Regions from separate parts of the Homo sapiens genome. Here regions 2, 3, 4, 5, 6 and 7 are each linked to region 1. The links are contacts of gene promoters, found by promoter capture Hi-C in blood cells and fetal thymus (Javierre and others, 2016). All regions are on one chromosome and are shown on one strand. The core of a region is centred on a gene start or on the middle of the fragment in contact, and the rest is flanking DNA. Distances in the headings are between cores, read along the strand shown.

Region 1 (3,770 bases), core at 546-3,045:
TGTTCAATCACAGTACCATTACAGGCAAATTTCTGGAAAAGTGCATAAATATACAACAAAATTTAGTCAACTACTATGAGGTTTTATTTCACCGTATGAACAGAATTAGCCATTTCAGTAAGCTAGATCATATTTAGAGAAACAGATTTTGTCTCCTATAATCCACAATCCTTCCAAATTAATTTGTAAACCAGGAAATGATTTTATGTGTAACATCAAGAACTAAATATTTCACATTTAAATTTATTTAAAAGCAACGCGAATCTTCTTTTAAAATGAGAGACCACACTGGGAGAATAACTAAATATTTACATGTTAATTACAAAAATGAGAACAACTTTCTTGGTCTAGTTATTTTCATCCACGCCGATATAAAGGTGTGAATCATAATCCAGTTCAGAGGTGTGCATCAGTAACTCTAATCCTTTCTTCCTAATCCCTTTACCTTTTTGAAAGCTTTCACAAGTTTCTTTTTGTCATAATCATCTGCAATGCCCTGAACAGTAGTCAGTGTCTTTCTGCCGTTCCGTTGCTGGATTCTTATATGAATGTAATCCTCAGTCCCTGCCGGGAGTAAGTCGTCACCCTTAGTTGCATCAGCAAAGGGGTCTGCGAATGGATAAAAAAAAAAAAAAAATCCAAAGTAGAAAAATATTTTTTAAGAAGTACTTTCCAGAAATACATTATACTACCAATCCAGACAGTCATCAATGAAGGTTCTAGTGCCTTTGCTGTTTTTGCCGGTAGGAATGGAGATGGGGGTGGAGTATTAATAAAACCCCCAAGATACTCTCACAAAAAGAGAAACATTTGAACAGCTATGTCCATTGTAGAAAAACGCTGTTATAGATAAATAATGTTATCGTTCAATATGGTCCTCTAATGAGAAAAAGATTTAGAAAACCTTAATATTGTAGCCGCTATAAAAATGTGCGTCATCTCGATTACATTCTGATGAAAACATAAACATTCGAATACGCCCACCTTAATCATTTAACCGTAACTGTGCCTTGCCAAAAAAAAAGTAGATTACATATATATCAAGAGGCGTAATTTAACAAATTGCTACGCAAGCAGAGAAGACTGAACCACTGGCCAGTGACAGATCAGAGGCTTGCATCCGCATCTTTCCCTAAGTGCCCCCAGGAGCTGCCAGAGAACGGGCGCCGATCCCTGGTTTCCCTGGCCCGGCATACCCTTTGCAAGTAGCAGGGCCGATCTAGGAGTCCACGAAATAGGATCGCCAAGGTTTCAAGGGGCAGAAGCGGAGGCGAGAGCCGGGTCAAGGACGGGGCAGGGGGTGGCGCAGGGCCCGCGGCCGGGGCTCCGAGAGGAGGGCTCGGAGTCCGGCGCTGTCCTCGGGGAAGGGGTCGCCAGGGGCCCCGTCGCCATTTTCTGGGCGCCGAGACAAAGCCCCACTAGGGGTGCGGGAAGGGCAGAAAGGGGGCCCCTAGGGGCGGTGGCCAGGCGGGCAAAAGGCCGAGATGCGCGCCGGGCAAGGGAGGGAGGCGGCGGCGACGGGATCTTACCGAAAGATTGGAGGTTCTGGATAGTGGACATGCGATACTAGTGTGAGGCCGGTGAGGGGATAAAATTCCTGCGGGGCCCGCCCGGATCACCTTGTCAGGAGGCTGTAGTGGCGAGAAAACGGAAATAAATAAGAAAACGCTTCGCCCTGGGGTTGGGATTAGGCTGGAGTGGCGGCGGCGGAAGCCGGGAGGAGGCAGGAAGAGGCGAAGGAGGAGGCGGAGGAAGAGGCGAGGGCGCGAGAGAAGAGGCGGCGCTGCGGCTTCTCGCACAAAATGGCCGATGGAGACTATTTAGCCGCGCCCGCGGCCCCTCCCACGTGACCGTCCCGCGCCGAGCATCCTGGGACTTGTAGTTTTCTGGAGGCAGCAGAGCCCGGAAAGCCTGAGGCCGGGGGCGGCCGAGACCGCAATTCCCGTCACGGAGTGCGTCCTCTAGCGCGGGGCGGAAGACCCGCGAAGTGTTCAAGCGGCCGCAGAGCGGCCCAGAGTTCGCAGGTCTGGGGCTCTCTTCCCAGAGAGCTCGTAGGGGAGGACAGTCAAGGGACTCAAGCGTCTCTCTTGACTCCCCTTCTCTCGCTGTGCAGTGGCGGCGCCGAGGGGTCGACGCTCAGGGCTAATCTCTATGAGTCACCCTCGAGGCCCCGGGTAATGTAAGTAAAATCGGGGTGCAGGAACAAAACAAGTCCCCTTGCTCCGGCTTTCAACTCATTGGCCCCCGCTCAGCAACTACCTGCATTGAAATTCCAACCCCAGTTGCAGGAGCGGTGTTAGTCTCAACCAATACTGGAGATGGGAGCCTCTCTTTCCAGGATTGGACGGACCTCCGATTCCCTAGCACGGTGGATCTCAGACTAAAGCGTGTGTCTCTGGAGGGCTTGAGAAAACACTGATAGACCCCAGAGTTTCTGTTTCAGGAAGTCTAGGGTGTGACCTGAAAATCTGCAATTCTCATAAGCTCCTTGGTGATGCTGATCCTGCCTGCTGGTCTGGGATCAGGCTTGAGAATCACTGCCCAGCTTAATCCTGGGCCTGGCATCGAGTGGGGGCCAGGTGTGTATGAACAGAAGATACCAGAAAATCAGCTTGTCAGCTCATTTTGTGTGCCTCAGAAGGCCCAACAGAGAATTCAGGAAAGATGCCAGGTATAAGCTGAAGGTGAGCTCAGCAAATAGGTTAATTGATGGAGTCATGTACCAGACCGTAATATCTTCCTATCAGGTCACGCACAGAAAAATAAACCCGAGACTTTGGGAATTGGCTCACTCAGGCAGGTGTGTTCAATTGTCAAACTTGGTTGGCTTTCTGGAAGCAAAGAGATAGACTAAAATTTAGGGATTCTTAACTTTTTTGTGTGTGCCATGGCAATCCTGTGAAGCTGCTGAATCCCTTCTCAGAATAATGAGAAGTTAAGTTTTAAGTTCACAAAGTACATAGGATTACAAAGGAAACCAATTATATTGAAATTTAAAAAATACATTAATAACGTGTATTTCTTTATTAATACACTAATAAGATCTAGCAAGATTAGGTCTAATACTATAATTTCAAAAAGCTGATAAATGTAAGAGATATTTTGTGATGTCCGTAACATCAGAAATTTAATATGAAAGTATGTGTAACTTCTGTTGGTGCGAAGTGACAGGTCCTTCTATCACTATGATGTTGCCTTTATTCATAATGGAAAGAAATGGTAAATTTTGCTTAGAGGTTAATGAAAATGCAGATATAATCTTTCCCCATCCAATTTTAGGGATCTCCACCCCTGCAGTTTTATCCATGAGCCAAGGATCTGCAGACCGCAGGTTAAGAATACCTGGATTTGACAATCTTTTGTAATTAACAATGATGATAAGTGCCATTTATTTAGTACTTACTGTTTGCCTGTTACAAAGCTTATATATAACATTATTAATCTTCATAGCTATTTTATAAGGTAAGCATTACTCTATGCACCAGGTGTGGAAATGAAGGCTTTTGTAGGTTAATGCCTGAAAAAAAAATCAAATTCTTAACTCTCAGAAATCTAACCACATTTGTGGTCTTCCAGCTCTGGTTCAAATGGAAAACACTCTTCGTATCCCAAATTGAGGTGTAAAGTTTAGAGCTGGCTCCAAAACAAGGAGCATCAAAATATCTAAATAAGTGTGCTTTAAAGTAATTTTATTAGTTCAATTTTGTGCCCTATGTTAATACTCTAACACTCTAATTTCTAAATAATTTGTAATCTAGATAATGCATCTC
Region 2 (3,770 bases), core at 475-2,974, 1.9 Mb before region 1:
CCTATTCCAGAGGCACAAGGGGTTCCACAGGGCTCAGTAACTCCATCCATAAATAAAAGAACTCTGTGCTCTACTGACAAACTTGGGGGCAAAAAATCCAACAGACTTTAGCCATAGGGCCTGGGTAGTGTCAACTTCAGCTGGTTAAGGAGCGGCCTAGGAATCCATTTCTAACTAAATAGCCAACTAAAAGGGCAACTAAAGGTGGGTCGGTCCAGGTCTCTTTATTTGAGCCAGATCCAAATAAATAATAGCCTCAACTCAAAAGGAAAGATGGGCTTGAACCCAGGAGGTGGAGGTTGCAGTGAGCCGAGATCACGCCACTACACTCCAGCCTGGGCAACAGAGCAAAACTCTGCCTCAAAAAAAAAAAAAAAAAAAAAAAAAAACACATAACAACAACAAAAGGAAGGATGGGACCCAGAACAAGTGCCTGCAAATGCTGAGATGCTTACACTGGCTTCAGTTGGTTTTTCTATGAGCCTCTCTACTTGGCTTTCCTCAACATTAAGCCTTGCAGGGAAGGGAGTGCCCTGACTTCACCCCACCCCTGCCCACCCCAAAGCCAGGGTCCCTTACCTTGGTGTGACCCGAGTGAGCTCATCTGAAGGATGCAGGATGCGACAGGTGGTGAAGGTGAAGGTGGAGTTGGTCTGAGACATGCACTTCCCAGGATGGTGCGCTAAATTGGGAGGAACAAAACATATTCCTTGCATCCAAGTACAACCACAATAAAAATTAAAATCCAGCATGTCACTCAACAGATGCAAGAAGTGATGAGCTACCTTGTTAACTGGATCTGGGCGAGGAAGGTGAAACGCAAATGTTCTGGATTGAAGGCGAGTCCTCAAAAATAACCACAATTTTGAGCACTGGTCTGCAGAGCACCAAATTCCAGCTTCCGACCCAATCCAGACTAGGTTTCTCATCAGTATTCTTGGGCCAGTAGTGGATCCAGTCTGGGGGTGGGAGGCGAGGGGGGTGGGGTAATGGGCCTTTGTGGGATAAATTTGGTTTCCCTCCTCAGGTCAGAACCTGCTGTCTTCTTTTGCTGCTTTACATTTCTTTGCATTGGCAACAGCTACCAAAGCTCTGCTCAGAGGAAGGGGAGAAGTACAGGCAGGGAGAGGCACTTGAAACCTGCAAACAGGGCAAGGCTCACAGCTCCCTTTCTGCTTACACAAAAAGGGGCCTGGGGATGCTGGCTCCACTACTGTCTATTTGTGATTGTTATGGTGGGAGATGGGGACTTCAGCTGCCTCAGCAACAACGTGGCAAGAGTTCCAGAGATCAGGGCTCTCTAGGGTCCTGAGCTCCAGGATCAGGTCTGGTCTGACACACAGCAGTGTGAGCAGGACAGGTCCCCATACCCCCTAGCTGCTAGCTGCTTTCTTGACATCTCTAAGATGTCTGATTTCTAATGAAAATGGGATGGCAACAAGTTGTTCTCAATTTACTTCCTTTTAATGTTCTAACAAGTTATTGCTGAGGTGGCTGAAGACTATGGTCTGCAGCAGATTAAATCATGGAAGTGTTAGGACCATGCATGAGAAAGCTGGCAAAGGAACAAGGAACAGAGTCTATGGGAGACATCATGATTGCAGAGGTCATCCTCATTCATAACTCAAGCATCAGGAAAAAAAATAATAATAAAATAAAAAAAAAAGATGCTGCCCGAAATAGCATGCACGATGAAGTGCCGGGATGATTCTCCCACCCAACCCCACCCCACCCTCTGCCCCTGTAGCAGCTCAGCCCCCAGAGACCTCCTGGGAGAAAACTGATTCAGATTTCAGAGGCCATGAGGATTCAAAGGCCATGAAGATTCAAAAGGCTGTGAACTAGAATCTTCTAGCTCCTTATGGTATATTTTCTCTTGGATTTGACAAAAAGGAAAACAATGGAATTGGTTGCTGCCCCAAACCTACAGGTCCACACAGTTGACTATGTCTTAAAAGAAAACCAGGAACCCGATGACACAAACAAAAAAATAAATGCTGGAGACACAGATTAAAGGTAGGCAGGACAAATCCAGAGTACAAAAGTGATGGTGACTAGAGGAACAAGGCAAGATGGTTTGCCCTGATTTTTAAGGTCTGACTCGGGTCTGTGTGTCAAAGCAGGCTCCCATGGCACCTGACGTGACAGCCAGCACCACGGCCACAGGAGAAAACTCTCAGCCATGGGGAGCTCCAGGCAAAGCAGGAGGGAAGGAAAAAAAAAACACATAAAAATAGCCTTTATGAATCTTTCTCAATCAGTGAACATAATGGCTCAGGAACTCCAATAAGTAAGAAACTGCCACAAGCAAAACAAAAATGGAGTAAGCTATGAAGAGAAGGCAACCAAACAATCACGATTCTCTTCCCGCAATAAGGTCTAGAAACAAAAATAACAAAAAGCCTGGGAAGAGCATCCCAAATAACAGGCATGAGGGGTTATTTGGGAAGGAGGAGAGGGGGAAAGCAGTAAATAGAAATAAGACAACACAGTTGAAAGAGAGATAACATTTAAAAGAAATCAAACAAGGGAAGGCTGGATTTAAAATCAGAAGCATACCCCCATTTAAACATATGGCCAGAATATCAAATCAAAAGGTCACAAATGTTCACTTCCTCCTCCACCCTCTTACATATTGGATCTTCAATTGCAATAGGGAGTGTAAGATGGACATTTTAGAGACGTAGTTGCATCAGCAGAAGCAAACCCATCTTATACAAATGGGTTTTGGGGATAGGAAAAGGCTGCTAAAAATTCACAAGTCACCATTCCCCAGAAGCAATGAATAGCCGTAGAAGACCAAGGAAGATCAACAAGTTTCCAAAGTGCTAAAGCCAGAGATTTGGCCCTTCCAAAATACCACCAGGACGCCTGGACCCGTGGGCTCTCCGCATGTCACCACTGACTGCCAGGATGCTGCTGCACCTCCCTTCCTTGAGACACAACAGAGAGACAGTGAGTCACCCAAGACTGGGATCATCAGAGGCTCCTCATGCTTGCTACAGAGAAGCAACGGGCTGATTCCTAAAGCCCTGGGTGCAGGAAGAGAGCAAGTTCTAAAAAAAAAAAAAAAAAAAAGAGAGAGAGAGAGAAACATAAAACATCCTTCTTGGCAGGAAATAGGGGGGTTGGGTGAGGGCTCACTGTGAAGTCACCAAGCCCATGCCACGCACCAAAGCCCCCTTCTTTATCTAAACAGAAAGTTCTTTGCAGAAGATGGTATTATGTGTTCATCCCATGCTGCTCATTTGGGAGCTCAAAGGATAGAGTTTCTTGGATTTAAGGCTTTAATTCCCTATTTAAATTCTTATTCTTTCTCTCAACCTGAGTGGAGGGCTTCCTAGTGTTTTGAAGAGACAGGCACATATTAAATGGGTTAGAGTATTAACAACGACAAATATTTTCATCATTTGATTTAGGAATGAATTTGGATTTACCAATAAAAACCCCTAATTCTTTTTTAATTGTTCTTCCTCCCCCAGATTCTGACACTGGTACAAAATGTGATACGCTTTAAACTTAATTAATCCTTGATTATTATTCAAGATCTCCTGTGTTGATGAACTGCCCGTAGCTGTCGTGCAGATGTTTTGTTCTTAAAACACACCACATGCAAGCACACATCCTTCAGCTAGCTACAGGTGGACACATCAGAGGACTTTGCAAGAGTGAGAACCACTCTTACTTTCACTCTTACAGAGTGAGACCTCACCTGCTCTCTCTAGTTGGACTCTGGTGAGCCTTCTGCCTGGAGTAGGTATGCTTGGTAA
Region 3 (3,770 bases), core at 371-2,870, 1.9 Mb before region 1:
TTCCTGAGGAAAGCCCAGTCCTGGGCACCTTGGCCCCCCTGCACCCCACCCTCTGAACCTTGTGACCACATTCTGGTCACAAGACAGACAGCCTGAGTCCTCCTCAGCCTTTCCAACATCAAGCTACAAAACGGTCACAAAACAAATGTCTATTCTGTAGCCTTACCGTGAAGATTAACAAAAAAAAAAATATTCATTAATCCTTCCCCCAAGCATTTCACAGGAAAGCAGACTTTCTGGTATCATCTTGTTATACATCTTTAAGCTGATTAAAATATCATATCAAGGATAGGCATAGGCTCAAGTGGGTAAGCAGAACAGATTTGGAGAACTGTAAGGTCCGCTTTTTTTTTTTGAGACAGAGTCTCACTCTGTCACCCAGACAGGAGTGCAGTGGTGCAATTATCAGCTTGCTGCAACCTCCACCTCCCGGGTTCAAGCGATTCTCCTGCCTCAGCCTCCTGAGTAGCTGAGATTACAGGTGCATGCCACCATGCCCAGCTAATTTTTTGTATGTTTAGTAGACATGGGATTTTGCAATGTTGCCCAGGCTGGTCTCAAACTCCTGAGCTCAGGCAATCCTCCCGCCTCGGTCTCCGAAAGTGCTAGGATTATAGGCGCGAGCCACCACGCCCGGCCAGGTCTGTATTTTTCAGGTGACTCTCATCTACCTCCCTCTTAATAATTACTGAGCCTGCAGACAATCCATACTACCACTCCTCACCCCAAAACAGAGAAGTGAAAACTCCCAGCTTGCTCACCCCAGGTCGGCTGCCTCTGTTTCCAGAATGATGCTGTTGGTCTTGTTGTCGAGGACGACGTTGCCTATGTCGCTGCCGTAGAAGCTGGACCGGGGGGTGCTGACGCAGCTGGACAGGAGGGAGTTCATGGCCGAGGACTGGTTGGAGCCGGGGATGTTCATGGGAGAAGGGGTCAGAGATCTCTGCTTGACAACCTGGTTGATGTTTCTTACTGTCTCAAAGACACGCTTCTGGTGACTAGGGAGAATGCACGGCATCCGTGAGTGAGCAAATGCGGGCACAACCCTGGAGTTTAACCCTCCAAAAATGATCAACTGAGCCAAAAGGGCACCTGGCCTATGACGAGTCCCCCAGCAGCCTGCTATCCTGTGCCTGCCACCTGTTTCTTAGGGTATTGGCTGCCTCCTTCACAATGCGAAATTTGAGAGATTCAACACCCACTAAACCCAGGACTCGAACGCATGGTTGTATCCTAAAGGTGATGCCAGCAAGAGTGAAATTGTGTTTCACATCCCTAAAGCTTAACCCACAAATAAAAATACTTAAGTATGACTTTTGTCTCCTAGATTTCTTTTTTCATAATATTCACTAGAATAAACGCTGCAGCAGGGCAGTGTTTACTGCTCAGCGCAGCAGAAATCAATCAATACTTGTAGAATGGATATTTGTTGAACATTCATATAAAAAAAGGAAGACTTCAAGTTAGTCTTTCACTTCTATAATAAGATGATAAATACTAGATTTGTCTAATTTTGGAAAGTGTTATTTTAGGAGCAGAACCACTTTGATGCTCATTTGTTCCCTTTTAAAGAGAAAAGGGTAGGCATGTTTTTACAATGGCCACTTCCTTCTGGGCTGCAGAGGGTGTCACACATATACCAAACCTCACTTGGACACTTGCCACTCCCAGGATCTCATTTAAGTTCTGTCTATGGAGTCTGAGTACACAGAAAACACAATGAAACCTGGTCCACATGTTCCTTACAAACACCTTGGGGCAGGTTAAGTACAAGAGTTGAGGTAGGAAGACAGATGGTAGAAGCTCATATCCCTAGGTGTATTCAGATGGAGATGGAAGCCTTGCACAAAATCTTTGAAGACCCCTCTGAATCTCACACTACGTTGATTTTAAATTTTTTAAATGTTTTCCACTGAAAGGAAAGATAAAAACGTGTAGCTATATCAAGACAAAGCTTGTGTTAAGAGAGATGGGAAAGACATCTCTCCTTTTCTAGGACTTTCTGGAAGTTCACAATTTGTCTTTAAAACCTAAGAAGAAGAGGAGCACAGTGGCTCACAGGCCAGTGGTGGCTCACGCCTGTAATCCCAACACTTTGGGAAGGCCAAGGCAGGACGATCACTTGAAGCCAGGAGTTTGAGATCAGCCTGAGCAACATGGTGAAGCCCTATGTCTACAAAAGATTTTTTTAAATTAGCTGGAAATGGTGGCATGCGCCTGTAGTCCTAGCTACTCAAGAGGCTGAGGCAGCAGTATTACTTGAGCCTAGGAGTTCGAGGCTGCAGTGAGCTATGATCACACCACTGCACTCTGGCGTGCCCAATAAAGTGAGACACCCCATCTCTAAAAAATAAATAAATAAAAATTAACACTAACAAAAGATAATAAGAGGAGCTGAGGGATGCTGTCAGCTGTGTTCTATTATTTCCCTTAATCTGGACTGGGAAGGACAATAGTCAATCACTGTCGGTACCCAGAGCCTCAACATTGCTAGGTTTTGAACACTGCACTGGTCCAAGTTGGTCTCTGGGAATCTCAAAACTGTAAAAACTGTGGCCGTACGTGATGTCTGGAGACTCGGCCTCTTCCAACTGCAGCTCCTTGCGCATCGTTCCCTCAATCTCTGCTGCCAAGGAATCCTGGGAAAAGCCAGAAAGACAAATGTCAAGTGAGCGCCAATTCAAATGCTCTGTCTCTAAAAGAGGTATGCACCCAGGTGGGCCATGGAGAGTAAACCAAGGCATCAGAAGCTCACGGTCTTCCCACAACACAAACTTAACAGCACTCTCTGTTGTCAGAGACCCTGGCTGAGCAGTTTCCCAGGCAGGTTCTGAGTGTGGCAGTGCCACTGGGCACTGAGTGTAAAGCTGCTGACTCATATGCCATTAGGTGTCTAAAAGCAAACCCTATGCTCCGTTGGCCAAACCATGGAGCTGTAACCATGGCTACGAGATGGGATGCAGAACTTATGAGGGAGGGGTGATGTGTTCAGAATGATGGAGACAGGTGAATTTCCAAATACCTCTGAGCTTACAGTGAGATATGGCAACAGAGCCCATACAAGCCACACAAAGCTATTGTCCCCCTAGTCTACAGGGTCTGTCACACCCCCTCTGTGTCTAAGATTCTGACACCAAGAATAGACCAAGGGCCTCCAACTTCGGCTCCTGGGGAAGCCTTTCCCACCTCCAAAGGGCACTCTGGTTCTGTGCTAGTGAGAGGGTCTCTACAGACGTGACGTGAGTCACACGCACTGCCATCTCTAGGTCCCTGCTCTCATCCTCCCTGGCCTCCTGCAAGGGAAGTTCCTCTCACCGCCAACTATCCATGGCCCACCCACCTTTAAACAACCTGCCCAGGAAATGTAGGATTCCTGTTTCCACTAGGAATCTCACATTTTTTTCTGAAGCAGACACCAAACACAGTAAGTCTTTGCCACTCTTCTCAACAGCTCACATGTTTCTCTCTCCAGCTTTGTGGGTCAGGGGAAGGCTAGTCACTGATGGCTTCTCACTTCACCAATGGGCCAGGCCTCAAGCTGAGACTCAACATTAAAGGCTGCCAGATGGATGTCCCCTCTCCTGTACCACCCATCACTCAGCACTGTAGGAGGTGGAGCCTAACACACAATCCTTTACACATGGTAGATACCCACAGGACCAAGTGTGTGCAGAAAAGCACCAGTTCAGCACCAGAGGAGGATATCCATGGAGGATAACCTGAAGGGAAAGGCTAAATTCATGTTAAACAACAGAACAACCTGTGATGAT
Region 4 (3,770 bases), core at 609-3,108, 1.9 Mb before region 1:
CACTTTGGGATCACTTGAGGTCAGGAGTTTGAGACCAGCCTGGCCAACATGGCAAAACCCCGTCTCTGCTAAAAATACAAAAATTGGCTGGGTGTGGTGGCGGGAGCCAGTAATCCCAGCGACTCGGGAGGCTGAGGCAGGAGAATCACTTGAACCCAGGAGGCGGGGCTCACTCACCCCACTGCACTACAGCCTGAGTGTCTGAGAGAGACTCTGTCTCAAAAAAAGAAAAAAAAAAAAAAAGAGAGAGTTGCAAATCCCCCAACTCGTTCCCACAATTTGTGCCTCCCCATCATGACCTTGCCTTTCTGGGAACACAGTACATGTGGAGACGGCCCTCTCACGGGGCAAAGGGGACACGGTGCATCTGCCCCATCAACAGAGATGCTCATCTCTGCACATTTATCCACACTGGTCAGTGTCTACCAAGAAGTTCCCTTGGCCGGGTGCAGTGGCTCATGCCTGTAATCCCAGCACTTTGGAAGGCCAAGGCAGGAGGATCTCCTGAGCACAGGAGTTCAAGACCAGCCTGGGCAACACAGGAGACCCCATCTCAAAACACAAAATTGAAAAAAAAAAAAAAAAAGGTACCTTATTTCATGGCCCTTTGTCATTTCTCAGACTCAACAGCTGTGCTTATTAGGTACCTAGAGGAAAGGATTCAAAGAACTGTGTGAGGGAGACTGCACAGAATTAAAGTCTCCAGAGGCTGACTGAAAATTAGCACCTAGTCCAAGTGGTTTCAGGTGGATTTGGTTAAAACTGCAATACCAATGTTCACTTCTCTTTGGAAGTATAGTCTCCAAAAATCTAACTCAAGTCTACCTAATGTCTCTACTAGAACTAGTTCTCAGACTGAACACTCAGCAGTTGCTTCATCAGTGCTCCTCAGCTCACTACCTGACTACCTGGTCTGCATTGCCTTCATGCATCCAGGCTGCCAAGTTCCAACAAGCGCTGATATTTTGCATGCCTTCGCCACATTTTTTGTTGGTTTTTGATATGGAGTCTCGATCTGTCGCCCAGGCTGGAGTGCAGTGGCATGATCTCAGCTCACTGCAACCTCCGCTACCTAGGTTCTAGTGATTCTCCTGCCTCAGCCTCCCAAGTAGCTGGGACTACAGGCACACGCCACCTCGCCCAGCTAATTTTTGTATTTTTGGTAGAAATGGCGTTTCACCATGTAGGCCAGGCTAGTATCGGACTCCTGACCTCAAGTAATCTGCCCACCTCAGCCTCCCAAAGTGCTGGGATTACAGGCGTGAGCCACTGCGCCCGGCCTTTAGCCGCATTTTGTACGCACATTTCAATGCAAACAAATCAAGCACACAGCATAATAATGAAGATGGCTCAGGCATGGCAAGGGACTGCCAGAGCACCTGAAGGATGCGGAAGGCTTCCAGCACACAAACGGCCAGAAACCAACAGGAATTGGGAGACAGGAAGGGAAAGAGAAACAAGTAGAGCAATGAGCTCAACAATGAAGTCCTTTGTCCTACCTGTCACACCTCAAACCCTGCACCTAAGGGCTGCCTCGCCTCTTCTTGCCCCACTAAGGACAAACACTTCCCTGGTCTATACCAGAAATGTAATCTTTAGAGTAATTTTAAAGAACACTCTCTGCCAGAAGAAAAAGCAAGAAGTCACAGCAAATTGTATAAAAATATACTTAGAATAAGATCTAGTATCTGATAGCACAATAGGGTGGTTACAATTAACAATAATTTATTGCACATTGAAAAATACCTACAAGTATAATTGGAATGTTTGTAACACAAAGGAATGATACATGCTTGAAGTGATGATATCCCTTTCTTTCTCCACCCTCCACCTTTTTTTCCTTTTTCTTTTTTTTTTTTTTTTTTGAGACAGGTCTCACTCTATCGCCTAGGCCGGAGTGCAGTGGCACAATTACAGCTCACCATAGCCTCAAACTCCTGGGCTCAAGCAACCCTCCCACTTCACTTTCTGAGTAGCTAGGACCACAGGCATGCACCACCATGCCTATCTAATTTTTGGAATGCAGGTTTGGGCAAAGTTTTCCTCTTCTTCAGTTACAGCGTCTAACTTTTTGTAGAGACAGGGTCTCACTATGCTACCCAGGCTGGTCTCAAACTTCTGGCCTCAAGCAATCCTCCCACCTCAGCCTCCCAAAGTGTCTGGATTACAGGTGTGAGCCACGTTGCTCAGCCTGATACCCTATTTACCCTGATGTGATTATTATGCAGCATATGCCTTTATCAAAGTATCTCATGTACCCCATAAATATATATACCTACTATGTACTTAAAAAATTGAAAATAAAAAGTTACATTAAAAATATTTATAGATAAAATGAAAATTTAAACAGAAACGTTATTGTAGTGTCTCTAGTTTTTTCTCTTTAATTTTACTGAGGCAACAAGCTGGTTGGGTTTTTCTTTGAGAATTATAAGAATGAAAAAAACCTCCCATTTCTCTAGCCAAAATATGATTAATGTTTACTTCTAAAAACAAGAAAACAGGTTGGGCGTGGCAGCTTATGTCTGTAATCCCAACACTTTGGGAGCCCAAGGTGGGAGAATCAGGAGTTTGAGAAGGCCAGGAGTTTAAGACCAGCCTGGGCAACATAGTGAGACACCATCCCTACCAAAAAAAAAGGATAAAAACAAGAAAACAGCTAGAAGATGGCCACTGGATTAAACTACAATGAGAAAAAGAGACCACAAACAAGTAATTTAGGCCCTTGGAAATAAGGTATTAAAAGAACTAGTTCCTTTATTCCCCCAAGAAATGAGGCAAGGTAGAGCTCATTCTAACTGCCTGCTCCCTCTCCTCACTATGCTTTAAAAGCATAGACTTAAAAAAGACTGTAACTTGAGTCTCAGCCCCTTTTTACCAATGAACTCTTGCACTGACTGACACACCCACTAGAGATTCCAAACAGCCTGCCGCCTACACTTAGCAACTGACTCATCTCATTCACCAATTTCAGGATAAAAAGCATGACTAAGGGGCCAGTGGAATCACCCTCTCTGTAACCGAGGAGGAGGCAAGCTCTGCCCAAAGGTGCATTCCAGACAGCAGCAAGCCCAGGTGAGCCACAGCATCCTCTTCCCCTTAAAACCAGAAGCGAACTCTCCACGCTGGTGGAAGGCTGTGCTTTGGGATCCTGTGCGAATCCCCCATTTGCCTGCCTGTGGCAGGCATGGAAATCATAGCAAGAGAACAGAAGAAACAGAGCCAAAGCCCAGGAAAACCACCGCACAGTGCAACAGCCACATGACTGGGACAGTTAGACTTTAACCAGGACACCCTCCTAGTTCCAAGGAAAGGCAGTAACTCAGGCATGAATCTTATCAGGACAGGAACAGAATGGCATTAGACATGGAACACAAAGACATAAACAGACGCTGTTGCCATGAAGACCCTTTAAAAATAAAACAGGCTGGGTACGGTGGTTCATGCCTATAATCCCAGCACTTTGGGAGGTCAAGGTGAGAGAATTTTTTAATTTAAAAATGTGAGAGATTCAAATAAACAGTGGCTGTAGTTTGCTTCTAATTTTGTTTTGTTTTGTTTTATTTTTTGAGACAGAGTCTCGCTCTGGTGCCCAGGTGGAGTGCAGTGACATGATCTCGGTGCACGGCAATCTCCACCTCCAGAGCTCAAGCGATCCTCCTACCTCAGCCTCCCGAGTAGCTGGGATTACAGGCACAGGCCACCATACCTGGCTAATTTTTGTATTTTTTGTAGACACATGGTTTGGCCATGTTGGCAAGGCTGGTCTC
Region 5 (3,770 bases), core at 774-3,273, 1.8 Mb before region 1:
TCCAATCGGGGTAACTATGACCCTGTCTGACACCAGAGTTTAAACTGTAAACATTGAGTATGTATGTGCAAATTCTGCCAAGGCCATTGCTATTTTGCATTGATCGCTGGCTATTTCAAATCTCTCGTAAAAGTTACTTGAAGACACTGGGTAATCAACCCCTCCCATGTCTTATTATTATAAGCCCCTGTCCCATGCCTCTTATTATATCCTCCTCTGGGGGCGGGGGAGCAGGACAGGCAGAGATGGGTGCTGAATAGAAGACCCCCACAACAAACATTAATAAACAGGAGGAATACAGTTATTCAACACTGAATAAAGTTCTCCTAACCCTCAAAGATAGAAGAGAACAGTAGCTATCCCTTAATTCCAACTTCAAAAGAGGGGTCCTAATTGGCCTGCAATCTATATTCCCATCCATATACATTTCTTTTTCAGTGCTAACACTGCAATTTAAGTGTGAGTCAGTAGCTCTGACATAAATGATGATTCTGCATCTTTTTTAAAACATTTGACTCACCTTTTATTAGTATCAAAAGTTCTGTAAAAGCTTCCCTCATTGACGATTCAAATGCCAAATAATCAGAGACAAAGCAATGGTGTGTGTCTATTGAGTTGCAATAAAAAAGACAGAGGCAAATAAAAGACAGGTACATATAAACAGGGGCAAATTTCATTTCCAGACTAATCTGCCTGAAGCTAGGAAGGAACTCAACTAGTTAGAAATGTGTAAGCAAGTAACCACAAAATTGGCACATAATTGAAATCTCCTTTTTGTACGTTTCCTAAACCAGTTTATTTCTGGACTTCTGTTCCTTTATTCCCTACTTTGCTACCTCTTTAAATGGGAGTATGAAAATACCAGTGGTCCCAGTAAATTCTGTCTCAAAAACCTTCTTCCCTTCATCCAAAATGGGATAGATGATAAAGGACAAGTATTTTGCTCAACATACATTCAGACAATAACAATAATTCAGAAATAAATAAATCAATATATTTACCCTTGAACAGTTGAGCCATCTCCTCTTCTATTTTCCTTTGCTCTTAGAGGAAGACAGATCAGGGTCTCTCAGGGCCAAAAGACTCAACTGAGGAAGTGCTGGGTAAGAAAATCCTTCTGATGGATACCCAGATAAGAGCAGGCCTCCGCTCACCCTCCAGATTGACCATGGCAAGCGACTGGCTTTATTTCAGGGTGTAAAGGGAACTGGATGGTGTGGCATTTGGGTCATGGTATTAGGAAACCTTCTTCCTCCACTTCTAGGATGGCATCCACAGAGCTATGGCCCCACCTGACTAATCCACGGGGCCTCTGACAGCACCCTGCTGTAACCAGTGCTCCCTAATCCAATGGTACAGTGAGGATGTATTCAATCCCTTACTTTAAAAAGTTATAGAGGGTTCAATGAGTCACAAATCACCAAGGAAACTAGAAGGAGGTCAATGATGGTTTCCAAAAAGGAGCATCTCTAGAATTTCCTTTTGGAGTTAGGTAACAGAATGGGAACTTGCTTTTAGAATGAATATATTCCAAAGAAAAAATTCACTCATCTTTTCCCCTCATGACCCTGGGAACTGCCTCCAATCCTTGTTACTCAAAATAGTTAAAGATGTACACAGAACGAACATGACAATGTCTGCATCTAAAGCTGGGGGCCAGTGAGATTGAACTGGCATAGTTTTTCCACACATTTAAATACCATCCCCTGAGAAAGCCTTAACCCACAGTCGCGGCAAAAATCAGTGGATAAGAGATAATTATGTAGTTTTTCAGTTTACTAACTAGGCCAGGTCCCAGCCTGTTACATCATTCAGGTTAATCAAATGTAGTCAGGAATAGAGCATTCTGAAACTCCCGACTCAATTAAAAAGCACTTACCTTATCTATTAATGGCTCATATAGGGCTGGGAACATATCATCACTGGGGAACAGACCCTCAAAGTGTATATATTAATTGGGCCCCTTTTTTGTGAAGGCATGTGATATGAGGGTCACTTTCAAGACAAAATTAAAGACAGATTAACTGTGTAATACACAATTTTGATGTCCAACACCCCAGGAACCTGAGACCCCGCCCACTGTGATGTCTCTGAGAACGCACCTCAGTGCTGTTTTCTGTGTGCTTGAAACCTCCTGAGACCTGTCCAGCCACACAACTTGGCCTCCACCCAGTCTCCCTTGGAATGTGCCACACCCTCCCTGCACAAACCAAGGTAGTGACAGAAGGACACATTCTTTCCCTGCCCCTCCCATCACCTCCCCACCCCCATCTCTGTTGGATCCAACAAGCAAACTTCATTTGAATCACCCGCTAAGTGGTAAGCTGCTTCTGCCTTTTCTCCAGCCTCTGATGGTTCCCAGGTCTGGGCTCAGAAAAGGGCAGAGTCTTCCAGGCCTGCTGCTGACAGTCCAGGAAGCCACCTCCTGAACACACTATTCCAAGCCCCCAGTTTCCTATCCCCTCCAACAGCAAGAGCGCAGTGAACACATTTCCACTTGCACACATTCATGCATCAACAACACACTCACGTCTCACACCAGAGAAAATTCAATCCAATAGAAGTATAACACTTACAAGCCCAGCACACCAAAAACCATCTCCCCTTCTAAGCAAACAATCATACATACTGCAGGAGTCTTTCACGGTAAAGAGCCCTGCCCACCTGCCACCTCCTCCACCATGCCTTTGGAATTGCCAGAGCCAGTGGTGCTAGTTCTGGTACCTCCCACCCGCCAGCCGCCTGTCTCCCCTAAAGGTTTCAGGACACCCCCCACCCAGAAGGAGACAATACCCCTATACATCCCGGCTCTGTTTTGCAGGGGCCATAATTACCATCCGAGCATTCTTCATAATACCAGTCTAGTTCATAATAATCCGCTTCGATAAATTTCTGCATAGTCAGTAGTCTTGCAGAGGAAAGAATGGACTTCACAGCACCATCAACGTCAAGTAAAACGCTGCCATGCCTCCCCGCCCTTCCAGAATACTGGACAGAAGAATATCCCGAAACACACCAGAATTAGGCTGTACATTCTTAACGACAGTCTGGAGCCAAAACAGTAAAGTGGGCAATGAAAAGAAAAATTCTATGGGGGAAGGAGGGAGTAGGAGGAGCAGAAAGGAAGGCAATTTGCAGAGAGCTAACGGAGACCCTGGCAGCACTGCCAATAAAGCAGCACTGGACAGCAGCCCTGAATGGGAGTAGCCAGGATCGTCCTATCCAGACGCCTAGAGGGTGACGTCAGAGACACACACCACCACTGGCTGTCTCACTCAAGCCTCGTCTCCTGCTCGCCGCTCATCTTTCAATCTAACCGTTGCCATAGAAACTGGCCGGCTCTGAAAAATGATGCAGAGATGGAGGAAATGTCTTCCAAGGATGCTGGCAGCAGAGGCTGAGAGATGCCAGGCAGGGAAAAGAAAGGGTACAGGCAAGGGAGAGACAGAGGGGTCAGCACCATCATCACCTTCAAGAAACGTAAGGACAAGCTTATTCACCCTACTTTGGGTCACGATAGAAAGAAGACTCTGGATTTGAAATCTGCCACCTTTTAAAATCTGCAAATCATTACTTTTGGTTTCCTTTCCTCAACCTGATTTCACACATTAAACATCTTCTATAATTTTTGACCACCACTTAAAGGAAATGTAAATTACTTAGAAAATGGAAACATTTTCACTTAGATGCACTACTATTCTCTGCTCATGCTTTTGCTCAAACTTCTAGAAAAACAGCCTGTCACATACAAATAGAGGAGGGCGCCATCA
Region 6 (3,770 bases), core at 453-2,952, 1.8 Mb before region 1:
TAAAAATAATTACAAGAAATCTTTAAAGATGCAACATAAGCTGGTTTTGAACCAAGTTATCTGCAGGTAGGAGGATTGCTATACTTTTTTTTAAGTGACACAGTGATACACAGATATGTAAATTGTTGGCTGCCATAAGTTTTTAAAGAGTGAAATTACTTCTAAAAAGGCACATTTTGAATAAATACCAGAATCATAAAGTATTCATTTTTTAAATTATCCTTTTTTTCAAGTCTGCAATATCAAGTTTCACACCCTGGCCATCATGACCACACTGAAAACACTCACCTAGTTTACTGCTTATCCTACCAGGTATCAGCTCTGCAGCCCATCAGAATGACTGGTTTGCTGCTGCAGTGATATTTGGACTCTCCAAACATCCAGCTTAGTGAGCTTTCACACAACAGTTATCAGCCTTGGTACACATATTTTGCTATGTCACATAAATGAGAAGCCTGGATATTCCCAATATCTTTGGTTTTAAATTTAGACAAACACCTTCCCAGTGAGTTTCTAAGGATTTGTATTTTTGGTAAGAAATAGAAATAGGAACATTTTCAAATTCTTCTGTACAGTCAAAAAAAAAAAAAAGTTGGCTCCCACCTATAATCCCAGCACTTTCGGAGGCCAAGGTGGGTGGGTGGCTTAAGGTCAGGAGTGCTCAGGTTGGTCAGCCTGGCCAACATGGTGAAACCCTGTCTCTACTAAAAATACAAAAATTAGCCGGGCATGGTGGTGCGCGCCTGTAGCCCCAGCTACTCGGGAGGCTGAAGCAGGAGAATCGTTTGAACCCAGGAGGCAGAGGTTGTAGTGAGCCGAGATCACACCATTGCACTCCAGCCTGGGCAAGAGAGCTAGACTCCATCTCAAAAAAATAAATACATAAAAAGTTGGTTCAAATGAAAATCTTACTTGGTCCTCACTCCTCTAAAATTTCTATTCAGAACATTTAAAATTGGGACCTTTTGTGCGGTTAACCCCTACAGCCGCATTTCTTTGACTACCTTTCCAGAGGTGGCAAGCCACATCACAGGGTAGCCAGTACAAGATCTTATTTGGGGCCATGGCTAAGAAGACCTGATCATGATACTGCCATCACAACACACATGGACAACTACTTACGGAAGTATTTTAACGTCTCTTCAATTTGCTCGGTTGTGAGGTCAATGTTGGCATCTGGAGAAATGAGAGGTGTATGGAGCCAGTCGTCGTGGTCATAACCGTAGATGGTGTCGGCTCTTAACTTATAATGGGGCAGCTGCTCCTCCAGCAGGCTAATGATCTCGACTTCCGGAAGATCGGTGCTGTTGCACACATCTAAAGACAAGACAACCAAGAAATGAGAGCCCAGAAATGGCTATGGCCTTGCTGCTAGTTAACTAAACTTGTAGCCTGCGGCAGGTATCTTCGGTTATTTATCTACAGCACAAAGAAGCTAGACAAGGCTATATCAGGAGTCTTTTTCCAATTTAAATTCTAGTCTCAAAACTTTGAATTGTGCATGCTTACGGCCAAGACCTACCCAAATGTTTCCTGCTGTTTAGTGTCCACTATTTAGGAAGAAAAGCCAAAATTTTTGAGCTTTTATCATCTGAGTTAAGTCTTTCCTCCAACCCTTTCTCTGGCCATTCTCCTTCAAGCGTTCTACATGTCAGCCAAACCAGTATTAATTTCACCAGTATGCCTAACTTCTTCATGCCACTCTTTTACCATTGAAGCTATCCTCCTATCTAGAATTTTGCCTTCATTTAATTTATTCATTCATCTGTTCATTCATCCACACTTCCTTCCTTCCATCGATCCATCCATTTGAATCCTGAGTACCACGGGCAAAGGAGACACAGTGGTGAACACAAGAGTCATGGTCCTGCCCTTGAAACACTTATATCCTTATGGGGCATCCAGCAATCACACCAATAGGTGCCCATCCTTTAAGGAATAGCTTGGTGTTTTGAGCACACCAAGCAGAATTAATCTCTCTTACCCTTTCTATACTGACATGCCATTTTGTCAGAACTTCAGTTACTACACTTATTAAGTGTCTTGTGGGTATTTCAGTGTCTGATTCATCTTGTTGGGAGAGGGCAAACTTCCATACACAGCTACCCTTGATCCACCACCTGTACCCCATAGCTCTTGGCCCAGGCTGTGCTCAGGGGGTGCATACTAATGCCTGTGACGGAGAACCAATTCACACAAAGCACATTAATGCAGGCCTTTAAAATGCAAACATGACAACATGGCAAACATAACCAGGATATGTACCCTACTTCTCTATCCCAGTGCTTACTCATCAAAGCAGAACACAGAGACTGAATTAAATAAGTGCTAATGGGTGAGTGGTAATTATCTATCAACTAATTCTGGCATCATCCACTGTATCAGCCTATTTGCATAAGGCATTCCCTATGATGGGAAACAGCCCATGGGAACAGCAGTGGTTTTGTCAACCCATAAATAAACCAAGTGCCTGTGGTGCACACAACTAGACAGGAGAGGAGAGTTAACTTGGTATTTTGTTCTAGGAATGACTCTTCAACAAAGAAAAATTATTCAAAAGATAAGAATATTACTGAGGTTGATTCTTTTTTTTTTTTTTAAGACAGTGTCTCACTCTGTTGCCCAGGCTGGAATGCAGTGGCACAATATTGGCTCACTGCAGCCTTGACCTCCGATCCTCAAGCATTCCTCCCACCTTGGCCTCCCGAGTAGCCAGGACCACTGATGTGCACCATCAAACCCAGCTAATTTTATTTTTTGTAGAGACAAGGTCCCTATGTTGCCCAGGTGGGTCTCGAACTCCTGGGCTCACGCAATCCTCCTGCCTTGGCCCCCCAAAGTGCTGGGATTACAGGCATGAGAAATCTTGCTGGGCCTGAAGTCAATTCTTATCAAAGTCACAGTACCAAGTTCTCGCTTTGAAGTAGAAAACAAAAATAAGAACCTGGATCAAGTGGAGGACCAAACTCACTCTTCAGTCTCCATCCCTCTCCAAGATATTAGAAGGGGCAGAGGAGAGAAAAAAAAAAAATACTTGTGACAAATAAAACCACACAATAGCAGGGAAAATAAAGAGGAGATGCTGAGGACGAACCAAAAGTATGAGGTATTCCTAAACACGGTAAGATAAAATTAAAGGAGAAAGGCCCAGTCTTACATATGAGCATTCACTCGCACATGCGTGCATGTCTGCACACACACAGGAAATGACTGGTGCAGTCAGTGGGAGTAGATCCTGGGGTGCTCCACACGGGAGGCTACTGTCACAGGAAGCAGGAAGGGCCAGGGCCAGGGATTCACTGCAGGGCCAGGGCCAGGGATTCACTGCAGAACCAAAGCAGGAACAGCAGGGAGAACCAGTCCCTTCCCTGTTCCCCCTGCTTGAGCCAAGGCCAGGAAGGCAGGAAGGCAGAAAGGCAGTAACTGTGGGGCCTGTACACACTCAGGTAGAACATGGAACACCTCTGCCTGGAAGAAGAGCAATGCCAGAGACTTTGTGTCAAATAAGAAGGCCATTCAACAGGTGAAAAAAATACGGATTCGTGAGAAAAGAGAACGTAGAGTTATGACTCATCACCCTTTGGGCAGGAGCCCACTGAGAACACCTGTCAGCACCCACCCCTCCCGCAGCTTCCTACCATTCCGTACTAACTGCTCTCCCTCAATTCAATATGCAAAGCTTTGCCATAGAGCATTTCCACTCAGGAAGTCAGCATGGTTTTCCAAAATGTCAAGGAAAGGGTTAAAAATGAGAAAGTGAGGACATTCAG
Region 7 (3,770 bases), core at 846-3,345, 1.8 Mb before region 1:
TATCCAGCAATATTTTCCTCTAGCACTTTCACAGTTGAATTTTTAACATTATATCTTTTCTTTCTATTTTATTTTAACTGCTGTTTGCTGAGCAGGGCTAATTCACAGGCAGTGTGCCTAGGGTAGCAGCCAACATTACATCTTTGAATCACCTTTTGAACCATCTGGATTTTATTGGGTTTGATGGAGTTATGCAGGGATCCAGTTGCACTTTCTTATAATGATAACAAACACATCAGTAATAATGGTAAACACTTATGGAGTGGTACCATAAGCACTTATAAGCATTTACATCCATTAACTCATTTAATCCTCCTAAGAGTCCTAACATTTATCCCCGTTTGACATAAGAATGAATACACTACAGCACAGAGAAGTTGAATACCTAGACCCACATCACATAGCCTGTAAATAGTGAACCGGTTTTCTAACAGAGCCTGAACTCGGAGGTCAAAATCCTAACCACCACTCACGCCTGCCCCTGGCCCCAAAGATCCTGACCTCACTGATTAAATAATCCCTCCTTATAACTCTTCTTTCTCTAAATTTTCTCCTAGCCCAACTTCCAGTCTTTTGCATACTTTGAGAATTTCTTAAGCAAAGCACATAGATAAAGCTTCACTTTTTGACCCATTCTGAGACTTTGCCTTCAAACAGGAGCATTATGGTCAAATTGGGCAAGACTCATCTTACTATTGTCATGCCTCTTGGTGGTTCAACTTCTGGAGGTTTCATCACTTTGCTGTCTTTTGCATTGTAGAGTATGTGCCACCAGATTCTTTTTTCTCCTAGTGATTTAGAACAGAGCTTCCACAAGCAGTGCTGGGAATGGAGGGTGCCAGGTAGTGTCCGGGGTGACCATCAGCTAAGAACTACTTCCATCATTTACCCATCATGCTATGCAAATACCATTGTTTTCTTGTCAGGGTCATGATGTGGGTTAGGTTAGGGAATGCTAATGTTGAATGTTTGAATCTTTTTTTTTTTTTTTTTTTTTTAAAGGCAGGGTCTCACTCCTGTCACCCACGCTGGAGTGCAGTGGTACGATCACAGCTCACTGCAGCCTCAACTTCCTGGGCTCAGATGATTTTCCCACCTCAGCTTCCCAAGTAGCTAGGACTACAGGCAGGCAGCACCACACTTGGCTAATTTTTTGTATTTTTAGTAAAGATGGGGTTTCCCCATGTTGCCCAGGCTGGTCTTGAACTCCTAGCTCAAGGGATTCACTTCACTTGGCCTCCCAAAGTGCTGGGATTACAGGCTTGAGCCACTGCCCCCAGCCTGCATCATATTTTTAATTATAGTCAAGGAGACATGGTAGACACATGGTGGCCATCCGCTATCCATACTCTTCTTAGTATCAAAGCTCTGAGCCCCATGGAAAAACTACATTTCTTAGCCTCCCCTGCTGCAAAATGAGACTACAAGGCTAAGTGTTGGCCAATGAGATAAAAGCACTGGTGTGAGAGCCTTTCTCAAAGGCTGCCTTCCCTACATCCTGGAATTCAGACATGATGGCTGGAGCTTCCGCAGCCTTCTTAGATGTGACATGACCTTAAGGATGGAAACGACATCTAGTATGGTAGAACTGAAGGACAGGAAGAGCATGGAACCCTGGGGACAGCAGGGCTGCACCAGTACTGCACAGTCTCCCTCTGAACTTCTTATACTTTAGAGAAAAATAAATTCTATAATGTGAAGCCACTGTTCTATACAGCCAAACTTAATCCTTACTGATACAGATAGTTACCTTTAAAGGTACTATCTGTACAGGCAAAGAGGTTAACAGACCAAGAGGTTACAGGCTAAGAGGTTAACCTGTATTTTCCTAATTATCCACAGCAAAAATAGAATAATCTTTTTGCACTTAATCTCACCCATCTCCCTCCAACCTCTTGGGTTTTACTGTTCTAATCTGGGAGTTCAGATGAAGTTTCTTGTTTATAAATAATTAATTTCTTTTTTTTTTTTTTCTTTTTTGAAACGGAGTCTTGCTCTGTCACCAGGCTGGAGTGCAGTGGCACAATCTTGGCTCACTGCAACCTCCGCCTCCTGGGTTCAAGCAATTCCCCTGCCTCAGCCTCCCAAGTAACTGGGACTACAGGCACGCACCACCACGCCAGGCTAATTTTCGTATTTTAGTAGAGACGGGTTTCCTCATGTTGGCCACGATGATCTCAATCTCCTGACCTCATGATCCGCCCGCCTTGGCCTCCCAAAGTGCTGGGATTACAGGCATAAGGCACTGCGCCCAGCCCAAATAATTGATTTCTTAGACTTGCTTTCTGTTGTCCAAAAACATTTCTACCCAATGTTTATGATTAGACTCTGTAAGGCTTTCAAGGTAGCCTGAGCAGCTGCCAGAGTTCAAGGCCCACATCCCTCCCCCTGTCCTGACTGTCCTGTCTTCCCCTTCAAAGGTGGCTCTAACTAGGGGACAAGCAAAGTTAGCTGGCAATCAAGGGGTAAATTCTGGAAAAGTTAAGTGCCACATTAGGAAAACTTATTTTATTAATAGTACAAAATCTCATGAAATCACAATGCCAACTGTGCCTCTACCATTCAATGCATTCATCTGTTTTATTGTTAATCTAAATTATTTCCTGAACAGGAAATTCTGTTTAAAAATGAACAATGGTTACTTTTTCAAAACATCAAATGAGATCATCTGGATATTAAAAGATTTCAAACTCATCCAAAAAATATTAGTCTGACAATATGCAGTTAAGAAAAACAAATATACCCTGACAGTAAAATGATTCCACATTCACTTGAACCAATTTTCCAATAAACACAAACATAAATTCAAAATGTGGAAAATTCCAAAGGACAACCTACAAAGCAGAATACAAATAAATAAATACAACATTATAATTTTAAAAAGTAATTATTCAGGTGATAGAGTCACTATACACAAGACTCCAGTGCACATAAAGTGTCTATTTTGTTATTATTATATTTTTATTTTTTATCTTAAATAAAGAAGAGGTCTCACTATGTTGCCCAGGCTGGTCTCAAACTCTTCTTGTTGAATTGATCCCTTTACCATTATGTAATGGCCTTCTTTGTCTCTTTTGATCTTTTTTGGTTTAAAGTCTGTTTTATCAGAGACTAGGATTGCAACCCCTGCTTTTTTTTTGTTTTGTTTTCCATTTGCTTGGTAGATCTTCCTCCATCCTTTTATTTTGAGCCTATGTGTGTCTCTGCACGTGAGATGGGTCTCCTGAATACAGCACACTGATGGGTCTTGACTCTTTATCCAATTTGCCAGTCTGTGTCTTTTAATTGGGGCATTTAGGCCATTTACATTTAAGGTTAATATTGTTATGTGTGAATTTGATCCTGTCATTATGATGTTAGCTGGTTATTTTGCTCGTTAGTTGATGCAGTTTCTTCCTAGCATTGATGGTCTTTACAATTTGGCATGTTTTTGCAGTGGCTGGTACTGGTTGTTCCTTTCCATGTTTAGTGCTTCCTTCAGGAGCTCTTGTAAGGCAGGCCTGGTGGTGACAAAATCTCTCAGCATTTGTTTGTCTGTAGAGGATTTTATTTCTCCTTCACTTATGAAGCTTAGTTTGGCTGGATATGAAATTCTGGGTTGAAAATTCTTTTCTTTAAGAATGTTGGATATTGGCCCCCACTTTCTTCTGGCTTGTAGAGTTTCTGCTGAGAGATCTGCTGTTAGTCTAATGGGCTTCCCTTTGTGGGTAACCCGACCTTTCTCTCTGGCTTCCCTTAATATTTTTTCCTTCATTTCAACTTTGGTGAAT

What was found. The method cuts DNA at HindIII sites, captures the fragments that hold promoters and counts their contacts. A CHiCAGO score of 5 or more calls a contact.
Region 2: a contact is called between a fragment that was not itself captured here and the fragment with the promoter of EIF1B in region 1, in 8 of 17 cell types (naive CD8 T cells, total B cells, fetal thymus and 5 more). The highest score is 13.7, in naive CD8 T cells.
Region 3: a contact is called between a fragment that was not itself captured here and the fragment with the promoter of EIF1B in region 1, in 7 of 17 cell types (total B cells, M0 macrophages, total CD8 T cells and 4 more). The highest score is 9.2, in total B cells.
Region 4: a fragment that was not itself captured here is called in contact with the fragment with the promoter of EIF1B in region 1 in 3 of 17 cell types (non-activated CD4 T cells, monocytes and M2 macrophages); the score reaches 6.4 in non-activated CD4 T cells.
Region 5: a contact is called between a fragment that was not itself captured here and the fragment with the promoter of EIF1B in region 1, in 7 of 17 cell types (activated CD4 T cells, total B cells, naive CD8 T cells and 4 more). The highest score is 9.1, in activated CD4 T cells.
Region 6: a fragment that was not itself captured here is called in contact with the fragment with the promoter of EIF1B in region 1 in 2 of 17 cell types (total B cells and naive B cells); the score reaches 8.9 in total B cells.
Region 7: a fragment that was not itself captured here is called in contact with the fragment with the promoter of EIF1B in region 1 in 2 of 17 cell types (monocytes and naive B cells); the score reaches 5.6 in monocytes.

What each region holds. Positions count from the first base shown.
Region 1 is chr3:40,307,732-40,311,501 of GRCh38, reverse strand. EIF1B (eukaryotic translation initiation factor 1B) reads right to left here and starts at 1,795. Exons shown (of 4, transcript NM_005875.3): 1 at 1,530-1,795; 2 at 446-609; 3 at 1-32. The coding sequence starts at 1,560. EIF1B-AS1 (EIF1B antisense RNA 1) reads left to right here and starts at 1,804. Exons shown (of 3, transcript NR_033965.1): 1 at 1,804-2,179. It overlaps LOC124906228 (a long non-coding RNA gene), which reads left to right and starts at 2,691. Exons shown (of 2, transcript XR_007095876.1): 1 at 2,691-3,770. RefSeq lists a silencer at 1,385-1,434 and an enhancer at 1,705-2,064. The HindIII fragment of the contact is 2,965 bases long and covers 459-3,423 here.
Region 2 is chr3:42,216,406-42,220,175 of GRCh38, reverse strand. TRAK1 (trafficking kinesin protein 1) reads right to left here. Exons shown (of 16, transcript NM_001042646.3): 15 at 580-682. Among named protein-coding and RNA genes, the nearest start is that of CCK, 48 kb to the left of the region's middle. The HindIII fragment of the contact is 4,951 bases long and covers 1-3,770 here.
Region 3 is chr3:42,198,046-42,201,815 of GRCh38, reverse strand. TRAK1 (trafficking kinesin protein 1) reads right to left here. Exons shown (of 16, transcript NM_001042646.3): 11 at 2,563-2,639; 12 at 762-998. Among named protein-coding and RNA genes, the nearest start is that of CCK, 66 kb to the left of the region's middle. The HindIII fragment of the contact is 673 bases long and covers 1,284-1,956 here.
Region 4 is chr3:42,178,773-42,182,542 of GRCh38, reverse strand. All of the region lies in intron 3 of TRAK1 (trafficking kinesin protein 1), which reads right to left. Among named protein-coding and RNA genes, the nearest start is that of CCK, 86 kb to the left of the region's middle. The HindIII fragment of the contact is 9,746 bases long and covers 1-3,770 here.
Region 5 is chr3:42,148,664-42,152,433 of GRCh38, reverse strand. All of the region lies in intron 2 of TRAK1 (trafficking kinesin protein 1), which reads right to left. Among named protein-coding and RNA genes, the nearest start is that of TRAK1, 59 kb to the right of the region's middle. RefSeq lists an enhancer at 252-814. The HindIII fragment of the contact is 2,941 bases long and covers 553-3,493 here.
Region 6 is chr3:42,122,967-42,126,736 of GRCh38, reverse strand. TRAK1 (trafficking kinesin protein 1) reads right to left here. Exons shown (of 16, transcript NM_001042646.3): 2 at 1,123-1,317. Among named protein-coding and RNA genes, the nearest start is that of TRAK1, 33 kb to the right of the region's middle. RefSeq lists enhancers at 3,108-3,207, 3,388-3,657. The HindIII fragment of the contact is 3,959 bases long and covers 1-3,681 here.
Region 7 is chr3:42,105,721-42,109,490 of GRCh38, reverse strand. The region is part of intron 1 of TRAK1 (trafficking kinesin protein 1); the gene reads right to left. It overlaps LOC124906231 (a long non-coding RNA gene), which reads right to left. Exons shown (of 2, transcript XR_007095889.1): 2 at 149-3,770. Among named protein-coding and RNA genes, the nearest start is that of TRAK1, 16 kb to the right of the region's middle. The HindIII fragment of the contact is 2,953 bases long and covers 619-3,571 here.